Regions from separate parts of the Homo sapiens genome. Here all the other regions are linked to region 3. Evidence: promoter capture Hi-C in 16 types of primary human blood cells and fetal thymus (Javierre and others, 2016). All regions are on one chromosome and are shown on one strand. Each heading gives the region's core, a stretch centred on a gene start or on the middle of the fragment in contact. The rest is flanking DNA. Distances are from core to core; before and after follow the strand shown. Region 1 overlaps TMCC1 (transmembrane and coiled-coil domain family 1). Region 2 overlaps TMCC1 (transmembrane and coiled-coil domain family 1). Region 3 holds the start of H1-10-AS1 (H1-10 antisense RNA 1).

Region 1 (2,989 bases), core at 160-2,659, 510 kb before region 3:
AATTTTGTGGCATTTAGAAAGTAGGAAGGTACTAGAGAGAGACAAATGTCTTTATCCCTGTCTCCCTGTTTATGCTCCTCTGTTATGAAGAGATTAGGTAATGGAATCACAGGCATGAAAGAATATGGACAGTGGAGCCACAATGACAGTGCCCATAAAATATTTGAAAAAAGTCTTCTGAGAGTAGTCATCAGGAACAAAACTTTAGTGAGTTTGCATTCCTGTTCCACTAAACTCTAGTAGCCTTGAGTTCACAGGGAACTCTTTTATTCAGCTAATTTATGGCTTTCTAGATTGCCACTTGGTGGCAGCAAGTCCACATATTCCCAGAACAGGAGCACCATGGTGCTTCATTGGTAGTGGCTTAAATTGTTGAAGTACTTGGTAGTGTAGGGAGTTTTAAAGTCCTTTAAACAAAAATTTAAAGAAAAATATGGAAATAACCTCCTACATCATATTTTGCATTCTGTAGCAGCTTCTGTGCATGTATATAATTTTGTCTTATATATTTGCACAAATACAGTACAAAAATAAACACTTTCTATTAGGAAAAATCTCATCATCTCCCATCCCCCCCTCCCTTTTTTTTTTTTTTTTTTTTTGCATGTGATTTTAGTAACCATGGCAGTTGCGTTGATTTTACATCTCTTAGTTTCAGCTTCCTTTTAATTTCTTGCATTTAATACTGGTATATGTTTGCTGTTTGACCTTTCTTTTTCTCTACTTTTCTATCCTACCCAGTTACTTTGCTTTTGAGTTTGTATGGATATATGGGAAGCTTCTGTCAGGGATGACACTATAGAGAAAGGGATTTCTTTGAATCTCCTTTCTTGATAGCTGGTACTGAGCAAAGCTCTAGTCTCTGATTCTGATTCTGTCTGAACCATTCACTCATATGGTGCCAGAAAGGTCATTTGTGCTTCAGCAGAGAATTCAACTTACAGGATTTTTATTTCCATTCTCTTCTCAAAAGAGCAAACCTGTCATCTCTAGTTACCAGTGAACTTGATGAATATGAATGGTAACACACTTTTCCATTAAAATCCACATATAGTTAGATTGGGATATCCATTTCTCACTGTTGTTCTTTGATTATACTGAGTTTCAGCCTGTGAATAATTAACTGTGGTTATGAATGAGAGGGATTAAATTGCCTCAGCTAGAGTAAACCTATTGGATGGTCTCTTCTCTTGATTTCCCAAGCAATGGCTGTTCTGTCAACTACCATTATAGTGTCCATTCCAAGATGGCTCCTCTAATATCTAATTCTGTATATATTGAATCTTGTAGGGATTTTTGCTTTTGAACATTGCTGTTTTAATTTCCTATGGACTTGTTCTGGGCTTTTTCTCTCATTCTAAAAAATAATCATTACCCACTATCTAGAAAACTGTCTTTTAATCTTCTGATTAAAGATTGCTTAATGATAGTGCCTATTTGTTTGGCCAGTAGCATGTTTTTCTTTGTTTTAACACTGGAGTTTCTGCATGGATTTATAATATAAGGTTTTTTTTTTGTTTTTTTGTTTTTTTGTTTTTAACATTAGATAGGCATGAAGCCTTCGTCTCACAGCTGCATGCGTAGTCACTGTTGAAGCAAATGCCTACCTAATTTGACACTCTTGGTGTGTTTAAAAAATTTTTTTGAGTTTGCAAATAAGCATATTAAGTCTACTGATGGAGCCTTCGGGCAGTGAACAGTTATTTGAGGACCCTGATCCTGGAGGCAAATCCCAAGATGCAGAGGCCAGAAAGCAGACAGAATCAGAACAAAAATTGTCTAAAATGACCCACAATGCTTTGGAGAACATTAACGTGATTGGCCAAGGCTTGAAGCATCTCTTCCAGCACCAGCGCAGGAGGTCATCAGTGTCTCCACATGATGTGCAGCAAATTCAGGCAGATCCAGAACCTGAAATGGATCTGGAAAGCCAGAACGCATGTGCTGAGATTGATGGTGTCCCCACCCACCCCACAGCTCTGAATCGTGTCCTGCAGCAGATTCGAGTGCCACCCAAGATGAAGAGAGGGACAAGCTTGCATAGTAGGCGGGGCAAGCCAGAGGCCCCAAAGGGAAGTCCCCAAATCAACAGGAAGTCTGGTCAGGAGATGACAGCTGTTATGCAGTCAGGCCGACCCAGGTCTTCATCCACAACTGATGCACCTACCAGCTCTGCTATGATGGAAATAGCTTGTGCTGCTGCTGCTGCTGCTGCTGCATGTCTACCAGGAGAGGAGGGAACTGCGGAGCGGGTAAGTTTGTAAGATTTTGTTTTTCTGTTAACTTACTGTTTTTCATACCTAGGACTCTCCAGACTTTCCTTTGGTAACTAAAAAGATATCTCAGCAAATACCTTAAAGTTGTGGTAAAAGAATTTTTCCCCTTTTCAAATGGGTAAATAATAATTATAGCTAATGAATGAATGCTTAGAATTATATTCCTATTTCCTTCCTAACATAGTGCTATATTTTATTTTATCCTTTCGTTAAAACCTTAAGTATATTTCATGTATTCTTTCTGTATATTTGAGGGTCAGTTTTATGGTAGAGCAATAAAGATGCTTTGTTTCTTATTGTTTTGATTTTGCACATGGAGATGGCTTTCTTACATTAATGAATGTAGTGAATAAAGTTCTAGAATCTGAGTTTGTGCTTACCATGGAAGTACACTAAGTTGGTTATAATTTTCATATACTTTGTAGTACATCAGCAGCATTCATTTTACATTTTGCATGCCACAGTAGAGCATATACATTATTATAGTGTACTATTAATAAACAGATTGTTTTGGGTTTACCCAAAACCAGGCATATTAAATCTAGGAGAAACTTTTTCCATATAACTCTCAGTTATGGTTAGTTGAGGCACATAGAAGAAATAGTCCTGCTAGGGTTTGAAAACTCAGGTACGCGTAGCCATGCAGGTAGTGACAATGAGTGAACTTAGGTGTTATGGAGCTTGGACAAACTGAGGAGTTCCTGCTTTGTTTA
Region 2 (2,777 bases), core at 64-2,563, 570 kb before region 3:
ATTTGATGAAGAACCCCAGTGCCCTAGACTAGTTGGTGACCAACCACCATTACTTTAAACTGGGCCTTCTTGATAGTAGAATATTTCCCCTTTTCTGCAAGACTGCTTATGCCTCTCATAAATGTGCAGAACATATAATGGCTCAGGGCTTAGGTTTAAGCTCCTCAGAGTGGCATTTATGGATCATTCATTAATTCATCAAATGTTTATTGAGCCCTTACTTTGTTCCAGGATGTTTTCTAAGTACTGGGCTACATTGTTGGGACAAAACAGACAAGGCCTCTTCCCTAATTAAGCTTTATTCTGTATGTATGGGAATGAGGAATATACAACAAACAAGCAAATAGGATCATTTCAGATAATGATATAAATCAGTGGTTAGTAAGCTTTTTTTGGTAAAGGACCAGGAAGTACAGTACATACCAGGGTTTTTGGGCCATATGATCTCTTTTGCAACTACTCAATTCTGTTTTAGTACAAAAGCAGCCACAGACAGTACGTGAACAAATATGTTTATATTCCAGTTAAACTTGGGACACTGAAATTTGAATTTCATAAAATTTTCACATGTCACAGAATATTAATGAGTTTTTAAAAATATTTTCCCCTAGCCATTTAAAAATGTAAAACCATTCTTAGCCATATAAAACGGGGCAAGGTGGATTTGGCCTATAGATTATAGTCTGGCCTTTTATAGAAAATGTTTGCTGACCCCTAATATGAATTATGAAGAAAATAAAACAAGCTGATGTGACAAGTGAATGACTGAAAGGTGGGTGGAGGGTTACTTAGTGAGAGGAGGCCTCATTAAGGAGAAGGTATTTGAGTTGTGACCTGAAAAATGGTAGCGCTTTCCTGGTAAATGAAACAGTGAGTGCAAAGGTCTGCAGGTGCAGATGAGCTGCTCTTGTTTTCCAGTGTTGAACTTCCCCACATAACATGTCATTCTTACATTTTATGTAAATACATTTTATGTCTTTGTTAGAATGTTGTTCTTCATGTAATAGGATGGTACCTTTCCGTTTCCTCTTCCTGATCCTGCCTTACAGTACCCATGGAGTAAGACTGCAGTGGAGTTGCACCTCATCCCAGGGTTAGGTCCTCAAGTTAGTGCATGAGGCAAAAATCATGTAAGATGAAAACTCTTCTGGAAAATTCCATAAATTGCTCAAAAAGTATGGTCTGCATGTTTTTGTATGTATAGTTGTATAAAATTCTTACGAATATGAAAGGCTGAGAGCCACAGAGCTTGACTGAGGGAAAGAGCAAGAGGAAATAAATTGTTATATAGGTATCTGGGCCTTCAGACTGTTTGGCTTTTTAAAACTGCTCTGGAGTCCCTATCAGAGAGTGGGGGATGGTATAGAATTTTGACATGTTCCTGTTTCCATGCAGGGTTTAATTCTATTTTTATGTTAAGCCTCTATTACATTAATACATGCTCATAGATGTGTTGCGAATATTAAACAAGATAATGTATTTGAAAGAGCCCGGCACTTAAGATAGTCAGTAAACATTTGCAGAATTAGAATCTGATTTTTACTTCTTTGGGCTCACATACATACTGTCCTTTGAAAAGTTGTAGAGAACTTAGCCACCTGCTTCCTGTCTATCCATATTGGCATTTCCTGTTGTGGCTCCACTGAACAGCTGTCACTCTCTTTGTCCTTGAGCATTGGTCACATTTTGCCAGAGGTTGGCTTGTAAGTTAAATGGGTATAGGTGTAACTCTGTTAGTTCTGCCACATGACCCTTAAAGTGTTTGAGCACTGCTATTATGTCTCCTATTTAAGTCTTCACTTTTCAGAGCTGAATGTTTTTATTTTTCTTTTTTTTAAAGATATTATGGAGAGAGATGGGGTCTCATATGTTGCCTAGGCAAACTCCTGGCCTCAAGTGATCCCCCTTGCCTTGGCCTCCAAAAGTGCTGGGTTTATAAGCATGAGCCACCATGCCCCAGCCATTTTAATTTCTGTTAGCTTTTTCTTATTTCTTCACCCTTCTGGTTGTTGTGAGCTTAGTTTATTCTTTTTTTTTTTTTTTAACTTTGCTACTCTGAAGTATATTTTAAGGTACAAATTCAAGTTTTATCTCCTTGACCAAATCTTTCCTGATAATTCTAGACCTTCTTTATATTCTTAATATAGTTTTATCTTTACTCTTCAATTTAATTTTTTCTTATTTTTGTATTTTATACTAGTTTCATGAGCATTTGTCTTCACTCTGCGACAACAAGCTTCTTGAAGGCAAAGACCATATTTTAAGTATCTTTTGTGTCCTAGATGCACTGAGTAAAATTCCAGGGATGCCGTTGATCATAAATTTGTTATAATTTTTAAAAATAGACTTTAAAATTTAGATTTACAGAAACATTGCAAAGATACTGCAGAGTTCCTGCCTATCCTACACTGTTTCCCATATTATTAACGTCTTACATCCCTGTGATCATTTGTCTGTATTAATAAACCAGTATTGATACATTATCACAGAGACCATACTTTATCAGGTTTCCACAGGTTTTTTCCTTAATGTTCTTTCACTATCCCAGGATCCCATCCACAATACCACATTACATTTAGTAATTATGTCTCCTTAGCTCCTCTTGGTTGTGACAATTTCTCAGACTTTCCCTGTATTTAGTGACCTTGGCAGTTTTGAACATTACTGGTCAGGTTTTGTTTGTTTGTTTTTTTGAGACAGGATCTCCCTCTGTCACCAAGACTGGAGTGCAGTGGAACGATCTCATCTCACTGCAGCCTCAACACTCTGGGGTCAAG
Region 3 (2,732 bases), core at 168-2,667:
GGGGGGCGTGTGTGTGTGTGAAAGGGGTGAGCTGGAGAAGAGGGGAGGTGCTGCTAGCCCTCACCCAGAGAAGCCTGCTTGGGCCCAAGGCCACAAATGCACCAACCCACCCCCTTTTCAGGGCCTTTTACTCTGTCCACCTGTAAATGTTCCTGTCTCTCACTCTGGGAACCCCAATTCGCCAGCGTCCTGTCCCCCCTCACCCCTCCATCGCTTTTCTATGCTGGGCCTCTGGAGACTGTCTCCTGCCTGCAACCCTGCCACCCCCCAGCCCCAGCCCCACTCCTGTGCCCTACATCACCTACCCCCAAAGGGATCCCCTCTCCTACCCGAGCATCTTACCCTGGCCTCAGCTTCCCCAAGTGGAGGCTGCAACGGCTTCAACAAAAACTGTCCTGTGCCTTCTCTGCACCCCCAATACTGGAATCAGCAGAGATCGGGCCGCCAGCCTTGCACAAGCCCCCCCGGGGAGGGTGGGGCCCGGGACCCTCTCCAGGACATGGTCTCCTTTGCTGTGTTCCCGCCATCATTTCCCTGTGCACGGGAGAGGGGGAGGGGTGCACCCAGGAACTAAGAGCGAATCCCTTCCCCATCCTCTCACAGGAATTCCTCTGGGTGTCACAGCCTCACCCCCGCCCACCCTGTCCCACCCTGGAGCCCCCATTTGGCTTTGGGGGGACCGGCGGCAGCTACTTGTGGATTACAAAATGAGGCCCTGGGAACATCAGCGGCAACAGGGTGGGGGGAGCGGCGAGGCAGTGTCCCTAGAGAGGTCCTGCCGTAGTCCTCCATTCCCCGGGTTGTGCCTAGGCTCCCAGAGGCACAACCAGAACCCGGGGTGCAGCTGGAGAGTGCCTCCCATCCGCCATCCCCTTTGGATGGGGCGGAAAACCCCCGAGGATGTCCTAGCGCAGTTCACGTTGCCCCAGCCGACCACGTGAGGGCGCGCCCTGTGTTAGTTTGGACAAATTAAAGCTCCTCTTGCGGGCAGGCCTGGAGCCCCCCGGGCCGGGACAAGGCTCGGGTGCCCGTGGCGTTCTCTGGGTTGCCGGCCGCCAAGCTCCCGGCCGTGGGGCCTCCTCTGGGGCCCGCGCTATTGGCCTCCAAACGAGGTGCCCCCCTCCTCTCGCGCTCCCGCAGCCTAGGGTGCACCTCTCCGTTCGCCTTTGCTGAGCCCTTCCAGGACGCAAGTCGCCTCTCCACTGCGCCGGGAGCTCAGGCCCTGTCCGGGGCGCCCCGCTGCGGGCGCGGCGGCGCTGGAGAGGCGCGGTCCGAGAAGCCAGCGGCCGGAGAAGGGGCTCCAAGAAGCACAAGTTGGCGCTGGCCCCGGACCAGGCTGTTGTTGTTCTCAACGTGGTCCGCCATGAAGCTATAAAAAGCCGAGAGAAGCGCCCTCCCGCCAGAGCGCAGCGCGCACGCCCAGCGAGTTCCAGAGGCGCCAGTGGAAGCTGCGGCGGCGGTGTCTCGCGTTCGGCGGGATTTCTCTTCGCTCCGGCTCGGCCTAGGTCTACGTCCCCAGCTCCAGCCGCCGGCTCGGACTCGGTCTCTGACCCCCAACTCGGTCCCCTAGTCCGGCCCCGGCTCCGGGCCCCCCAACCCTCGCTCCGGCCCGGCCCGGCCCCCACCCCAGCCCTGCCGCCCGGCCCCAGGCCCGGCCGCGGCCGCTCCCGCCTGGAGCCGCCGCGCGCCCCCAGCCCCCCTGCACCCCCTCGGCCCCTCGCCTTCCTCTTCCCGGCGCGGCCCCCCGGCTTCCGCGCGCCGCCCGCCACCAATCCTCTTGCTACCATGTCCGTGGAGCTCGAGGAGGCCCTGCCAGTGACGACCGCCGAGGGAATGGCCAAGAAGGTGACCAAGGCTGGCGGCTCGGCGGCGTTGTCCCCATCTAAGAAGAGGAAGAATAGCAAGAAGAAGAACCAGCCGGGCAAGTACAGCCAGCTGGTGGTGGAGACCATCCGTAGGCTGGGCGAGCGCAACGGCTCGTCGCTGGCCAAGATCTACACCGAGGCCAAGAAGGTTCCGTGGTTCGACCAGCAGAATGGGCGCACCTACCTCAAGTACTCGATCAAGGCGCTGGTGCAGAACGACACGCTTCTGCAGGTGAAGGGCACCGGCGCCAACGGTTCCTTCAAGCTCAACCGCAAGAAGCTGGAGGGCGGCGGGGAGCGGCGCGGAGCCCCGGCGGCCGCCACCGCCCCGGCCCCCACCGCGCACAAAGCGAAGAAGGCAGCCCCGGGCGCGGCCGGCTCCCGGCGCGCGGACAAGAAGCCCGCCAGGGGCCAGAAGCCGGAGCAGCGCTCGCACAAGAAGGGCGCTGGCGCCAAGAAGGACAAAGGCGGCAAGGCCAAGAAGACGGCGGCCGCCGGGGGCAAGAAGGTGAAGAAGGCGGCCAAGCCCAGCGTCCCCAAAGTGCCCAAGGGCCGCAAGTGAGCGTGTCGGCCGGTCAGAGCGGCCGGCGTGGGCTTTTCGGTGTTTTTGTTTTTCTACCCCAAGTGACGTAGATTTTGTACGGCTCACGCCGGCCGGGGCCGCGAGGCCTGGTCTGAGCCTCAGGGAGGGGCCCCGGGTCCTCTCAGTCTTTCCCCTCCCCCAACGATGTAGCGTTTTTCGTTGTTTGCTTTAGGTTTTTGAAACAGCCCCGGCGACGCCTCTATTGGCTCTCGGCCTTGGCAACGGCCGTCGTCATGGTTACTGGCCCCTAGGCGCCGATGGCCGAGGCCGCGCCTGCCCACCGG

Evidence for each region. Contacts are between HindIII fragments. The CHiCAGO score rates a contact against its expected background, and 5 or more counts as called.
Region 1: a contact is called between a fragment that was not itself captured here and the fragment with the promoter of H1-10-AS1 in region 3, in 1 of 17 cell types (M1 macrophages). The highest score is 7.1, in M1 macrophages.
Region 2: a contact is called between a fragment that was not itself captured here and the fragment with the promoter of H1-10-AS1 in region 3, in 1 of 17 cell types (fetal thymus). The highest score is 5.2, in fetal thymus.

What each region holds. Positions count from the first base shown.
Region 1 is chr3:129,827,066-129,830,054 of GRCh38, reverse strand. It overlaps TMCC1 (transmembrane and coiled-coil domain family 1), which reads left to right. Exons shown (of 7, transcript NM_001017395.5): 4 at 1,547-2,252. The coding sequence starts at 1,677. Among named protein-coding and RNA genes, the nearest start is that of TMCC1, 65 kb to the left of the region's middle. The HindIII fragment of the contact is 1,257 bases long and covers 781-2,037 here.
Region 2 is chr3:129,889,188-129,891,964 of GRCh38, reverse strand. All of the region lies in intron 1 of TMCC1 (transmembrane and coiled-coil domain family 1), which reads left to right. Among named protein-coding and RNA genes, the nearest start is that of TMCC1, 3.1 kb to the left of the region's middle. The HindIII fragment of the contact is 1,850 bases long and covers 389-2,238 here.
Region 3 is chr3:129,314,956-129,317,687 of GRCh38, reverse strand. It overlaps H1-10-AS1 (H1-10 antisense RNA 1), which reads right to left and starts at 1,417. Exons shown (of 5, transcript NR_026991.1): 1 at 343-1,417. It overlaps H1-10 (H1.10 linker histone), which reads left to right and starts at 1,402. Exons shown (of 1, transcript NM_006026.4): 1 at 1,402-2,732. The coding sequence starts at 1,786. The coding sequence ends at 2,427. RefSeq lists silencers at 924-1,263, 2,064-2,193, 2,574-2,732. The HindIII fragment of the contact is 12,756 bases long and covers 1-2,732 here.